Regions from separate parts of the Homo sapiens genome. Here region 2 is linked to region 1. Evidence: promoter capture Hi-C in 16 types of primary human blood cells and fetal thymus (Javierre and others, 2016). All regions are on one chromosome and are shown on one strand. Each heading gives the region's core, a stretch centred on a gene start or on the middle of the fragment in contact. The rest is flanking DNA. Distances are from core to core; before and after follow the strand shown. Region 1 holds the start of CBX6 (chromobox 6). Region 2 has its middle 7.6 kb from the start of APOBEC3B-AS1.

Region 1 (2,958 bases), core at 441-2,940:
TCTATTTTTACCACAGCAGCTCACCTTGGGCTGGCCAGCAAATAGCTGTTTCCCTGGAACATACTGATTTTAAGTGAGGAGAGGGATTTCTCTCAAGGTAATAATTGGACAAATCTGCTGGGAGAAAAAGACTAACATTTTGCTATGGTGGATTTGAAACCCAAGAATTGGCATTGTAGCACAGAAACGCAAAAATCTTTCCTAATGAGCCATTGATGTTCGCAAGACACAACCCTGACTCTTCACAATCCCCATTCCTCCCCACCCCATCTCAGCCCCAAGGTGGTCACTGGAAGGATGGTGAAATCTGTATTTAATGACACTGAAAGATGTCCACTTTATAGCATTAAGGGAGAAAAGCAGATTCCAGAACAGTGTGAATAGCGTGATCCCATTTTGTTAAAAAATTAAATCTACAGACAATGTGTATGTGTATGTATATACATACATACATAGGTGTACGTGAGTTTATGTACGCATAGAGCAGAGGCTGGAAGATTGGTGAAGATGTTAACAATGGTTTTATGGGGGTTATGGACAGTTGTTTTATCTGTATTTTTAAAATTGTTTTACAAAGAACAAGACTACTAACATAATGGGAAATAAAGTTCAAGTAATTTCAACATTTAAAAAGTGGAGCGTTTTGCGCGGCAGGGCTATTTTTTGTGTGTCCGTTCCTGGACAGCCCCAGCTCGATCCCCCGCCCCTCCTCAAGTGGGAAGCTGGGATCTGGGCTCCCCAGAGCAATGGCGGAAGCTTCGCGCAGCTGCGGGCGGGGAGAGGGACGCGGCCAGGTCGGGGGGCCGGGAGGGGTGCTGGGAATCGGAAAACACAGATATGACCGCGAAGGCGGTTTCTGCCGAATGACCAGATGATGACCCGCTGTGGGCCCAAGGCGGAGTGCGGGGAGCCCGTTCCTGCCCGCGGTCCCTCTCCCTCCCCCACTGCCACACCGGCCCCGCCGAATCCTCCCCGGTCTCCTGGGCGAGGACAGGTGCCGCCCGAGACCCCGGCCGCAGACAGATGCCCACGGTCACTCCGGCCTTCCTCGGCCCCATTCGCCGCACACCCCCTTCCTGCGGTGGCGTTTTTGTTTTAACTCTTCTGAACTGGTTACAAAACCACCCTCCCACGAATACATAAATAATGGGTGGGGGGCGATGTTTTAAAGAAATTCCCGCAAGGCCTGGCAAGGCAACAGCAACTGCATTTCTGCTGCATCATATTTAACTGTTTGCAGGCTGCTGCGGGAGATGCGCGGTGGCGGCGAGACTCGGGCTCCACAGCCCTTCTCCGCCCGGGGCCTGGCGAGACTCGCGTGGGGATTAAGAGGCAAGGAGAGGGTGTCAGCGATCGGGCGCCGGCAAGATGTGAGGGGGGGTGATAAGCGTAAGGCCGCAGCGTGCCCACAAGCCGGGCACCCATCGGGTCGGCCGGCAATTGCTCCCTCCGCCCGCGCGGCCCCTTTAAGAGCCAGCGCGCGCCCCCGCCCCGCGAGCGCCGACTTTCCCTAGCAACCGCCCCGGGGGAGGGGGAGGTCCTGGCAACCGCGCGCCAGCCGCGAGGATCACGTGACGGCCCGCAGCTGGAACGCGAGCGCGCGCCCCGCCGCGCTCCCGCCCGCCGGGGCCTGGGCGCTGCGGCGCGTGCGCGAGCGGTGCCGCACCGGCCGCGGGCGCAGGGAGTATTATGGGCTGTGGGTGCCGCTGAGCAAGATGGAGCTGTCTGCAGTGGGCGAGCGGGTCTTCGCGGCCGAATCCATCATCAAACGGCGGATCCGAAAGGTGAGCCGCCGCCCGGGGCGGGCCGCCGCTGTCCGCAGCCGGGGCCGGGGCCGGGGGCCCTCGGGGCGAAGCGGTCCCGCTAGCCCGGCTCCCTCGCCCAGCCCCGCGCCGCCGCCTCCTCGCGTCCCCGCATCCTCCCCACCCCCACCCCCGTTTTTCTCCCCTCTGTTTTTCAGGGACGCATCGAGTACCTGGTGAAATGGAAGGGGTGGGCGATCAAGTGAGTGTCGCGGGGTCCGGGGGCGTCGCGGGAGGGGAGGCAGCGGGCACCGGGGCCTGGGGTGGGGGTGCGCGCTCTTGCTCTCGCCGCGTGCCTGTCCCTCTCTGGTCTTCATCCTGATTTTGTGCGTTTGTGACTCGGCAGGTACAGCACTTGGGAGCCCGAGGAGAACATCCTGGACTCGCGGCTCATTGCAGCCTTCGAACAAAAGTGAGTTGTTGGGGAAGCTGGCAGGGGCTGCGAGGCCGAGGCTCGGCTGGGGCGCCGCGCGGGGAAGCGGGAGAGCCGGGGAGGGCAGCGCGGAGTGGGGCCCGGGAAGGGGCTCTTTTTAACCTCTGGTGTTTTTCGGCCGCAGGGAGAGGGAGCGTGAGCTGTATGGGCCCAAGAAGAGGGGACCCAAACCCAAAACTTTCCTCCTGAAGGTAACCTGGCCCAGCCCCAGCAGCATCCCCCTCTCGGGCCCCCAGCCCCGGCACAGCACGGGGCCTGGAAGGGAGGGACAGATACGCGGCCGCCCAAGCGGGCCGGCCTTTTCAGAGGGGCCCCAGCTGGGCAGGGGGTGGTTGTGAGCCCCCCCAGAAGCCCCTGATGGCAGGCCTCAGCCAGCATCAGCTTCAACAAGAGGGTTTTGGGACTGGGGATAATCCTCCCTGTTGAAACCAGGGGCTGGGGATGCCTTTAGGGCTCCAGGAAAGGGGGTGGCTGAGGCAGGTGGGGGATGCCCATGGGAAGGGGGCATTTGTTTGAGCTGTTATGACTGTGCTGGGAGTTGGAACCCAGGGGGAGAGTGAGTGGGGTCCCACCTCCTGGCAGGGCACAAGGAGAGGATTTGGGGGACCACCTGCCTCCCTGCCCCCAGCTTCCCCCGTTCAGTCTTTCAGGATTTGTTCTTCATGGCTCCCCTCCTTTCTTGGGGATCCAACTTGAATTTGACCTCAAATCATTTTACTTTGA
Region 2 (2,958 bases), core at 288-2,787, 130 kb before region 1:
CCGGATTCTAGCGATTCTCCTGCCTCAGCCTCCTGAGTAGCTGGGATTACAGGTGTTCACCTTCACACCTGGCCAATTTTTATATTTTTAGTAGAGATGGAGTTTCACCATGTTGGCCAGGCTGGTCATTAACTCCTGACCTCAAGTAATCCACCTGCCTTAGCCTCCCAAAATGCTGGGATTACAGGCAAAATGCTGGGATTAGTGCCTGGTCCTAAGATGCTATTTTAATAGCATATGCTTTCTGTTTTTTATGATTGAGATGGTCATGTGGTTTTTCTCCTTTAATCTATTGATATAGTTGCAATATCATTCTGTTTGACAAGTAGTAGTGGCTTGTGATTTGGATTGACTATCAAAAGAGACGTGATAGGCTTCACCCAGTATGCATTTCCTTGGCTTTAAGAAAAGATACAGGACAGGTGGGACAACGTGTGTAACAGCACAGAGCGGAAGTCTCAGGACTCCCACGTGTAGCTTCTGAGGCCCCTTGTCACTCACGCACACGGACACTTGGTCCTGAGGCTGAGGGAGTGTGGACCTGCCCAGCTCCGGGAAGCCATCAGCTCTGGGGCCTGCAGATTAAATACCTTTCTGTTTTTTTTTTTTTTCTTGAGACTGAGTCTCGCTCCATCACCCAGGCTGCAGTTCAGTGGCACGATCTCAGCTCACTGCAACCTCTGCCTCCTGGGTTCAAGTGATTCTCCTGCCTCAACCTCCTGAGTAGCTGGGATTACAGGTGCGTGCCAACACACCTGGCTAATTTTTGTTTTTTGTTTTTGTTTTTGTTTTTTGAGATGGAGTCTCGCCCTGTCACCCAGGCTGGAGTGCAATGGTGTGATCTCGGCTCACTGCAACCTCCACCTCCCAGGTTTAACAGATTCTCCTGCCCCAGCCTCCCTAGTAGCTGGGATTACAGGCACATGCCACCACACCCAGCTAATTTTTTGTATCTTTAGTTGACATGAGGTTTCACCATGTTGGCCAGGCTGGTCTCGAACTCCTGACTTCAGGTGATCTGCCGACCTCGGCCTCCCAAAGTGCTGGGATTACAGGCATGAGACACCGCGCTCGGCCAATTTTTGTATCTTTAGTAGAGAGGAGTGTTTCACCATGTTGGCCAGGCTGGTCTTGAACTCCTGACCTCAGGTGATATGCCTGCCTCAGCCTCCCAAAGTGCTGGGATTACAGGCATGAGCCACCGCACCCGGCCAGATTTAATGCCTTTTTAGTCAGGGACTCTTCAGTTCCTGGGCTGCTGTGTCTCATTGACTGAAATTACTCATGAATTATAGTTTTTAAAAAATTGTTTTCTATTTTTGCCCAGTTGTAGCATCAGGGTTGTGATAAACCTCGGTCATGATTTGGGAAGCTTCCCATCATTTTCTTTTCTCTGGAATAGTCTCTGTAATGTGGAATGATCTGTTCATTGACAATTTGGTAGAAATTGCCAGTAAAACCATCAAGGCCTGAGGTTAGGTGAGGATTGGTTACCTTTTCAGTGTCCTCATTGATGATCGACCTAACTGAGTGATTTTTCTCCATTTTGTGTCAGTTTTGGTGATTCTTACTTTTATGGAATATTTATGTAAGTGTGCTAGAAGGCCAAGCACGACTTTTCCATCTGCCCTGGAATTGGTGGCCGGGAGTTAAAACCATGGTCAAAGAGAGATTATGTACCTAACATCCTACAGAAAGCTTCAGATGGGTGAGGGTCAGACAGATACACCACAGAAAGACTCACGACAAGGTCTTGTGAAGAGGCATTCAGCTTTGGCCGGGAGACCCCAGCAACAGGCAACAAGCAACGGCTGGGAATTAAGAGGGCTTGGGAAACTGAGTGTGTAGAAAAACACACAAACTCAAGCCGTGTTTTTCCTCTGCTCTCGCACCAACACAACAACAGTCAACACAGAAGACTTCTGTGACCAAATGTGGGGGATTTCTTCCCACCAACAAACAAGCAATCCATTCTTCAGCAGGCACCAGCCAGGTGTCCTCTCAGTCACATCCAACATTGCCTTGAGATGGTGTCAGATCTCACAGGTTGAGGGCCCAGTCCCCAAAACTGCCCCTGCTTTAGACACCAGTAGAAAGCTCAGACATCTGGAGTGTCTGACCAACAGGCTTCAAGTTGAGGTTCCCATGACCCATTCTTTGGGTTCAGTTAATTTGCTAGAGCACTACTCTGGAGGCTGAGGCAGGAGAATTGCTTGAATCCAGGAGGCGGAGGTTGCAGTGAGCCGAGATCGTGCCACTGCACTTCAGCCTGGGCAACAGAGCGAGACTCCGCCTCAAAAAAAAGAAAAAAAGATCATTGAGTTCTAAGTGTGCCTAATTCACACTATGATTTTGTCTTTAACGCGTGAATGATTTAGGAGCGATAACGTGCTACCCTAGCAAGAACGGGAATCGAGCTCAAATACGGACACCACCGTGTCTAGCAGCACAGCCTACCCTGAACTCATTGGAAATCGATATCCATTTGTCCCTTAAAATATTTTAAGTAATTTTGGAGAGATGTAGGAGAATAATGCTTTTTTCTTTTTTTTTTTTTTTGAGACAGAGTTTCATTGTTGTCACCCAGGCTGGAGTGCAATGGCACGATCTCGGCTCACTGCAACCTCCCACTCCTGGGCTCAAGCGATTCTCCTGTCTCAGCCTCCCGAGTAGCTGGGATTAGAGGCAGCTGCCACCACGCCCGGCTAATCTTTGTATTTTTAGTAGAGACGGAGATTCACCATGTTGGCCAGGCTGGTCTCCAACTCCTGACCTCAAGTGATATGCCCATCTTGGCCTCCCAGAGTGCTGGGATTACAGGTGTGAGCCACCGAACCCAGCAGAGAATAATGCTTTTTAAACATTTTTTTAATTTTTAAATTTTTAATTAATTAAATTTAATTTTTTAATTTTTTAGAGACAGGATCTTATTCTGTTGCCCAGGCTGGAGTGCAGTGA

Evidence for each region. Contacts are between HindIII fragments. The CHiCAGO score rates a contact against its expected background, and 5 or more counts as called.
Region 2: a fragment that was not itself captured here is called in contact with the fragment with the promoter of CBX6 in region 1 in 1 of 17 cell types (M0 macrophages); the score reaches 5.4 in M0 macrophages.

The regions. Positions count from the first base shown.
Region 1 is chr22:38,870,948-38,873,905 of GRCh38, reverse strand. CBX6 (chromobox 6) reads left to right here and starts at 1,690. Exons shown (of 5, transcript NM_014292.5): 1 at 1,690-1,784; 2 at 1,961-2,004; 3 at 2,149-2,214; 4 at 2,360-2,426. The coding sequence starts at 1,716. RefSeq lists enhancers at 1-547, 384-933, 934-1,484 and silencers at 1,479-1,738, 1,769-1,918, 2,019-2,068. The HindIII fragment of the contact is 16,779 bases long and covers 759-2,958 here.
Region 2 is chr22:39,004,295-39,007,252 of GRCh38, reverse strand. No RefSeq gene overlaps it. Among named protein-coding and RNA genes, the nearest start is that of APOBEC3B-AS1, 7.6 kb to the right of the region's middle. The HindIII fragment of the contact is 326 bases long and covers 1,375-1,700 here.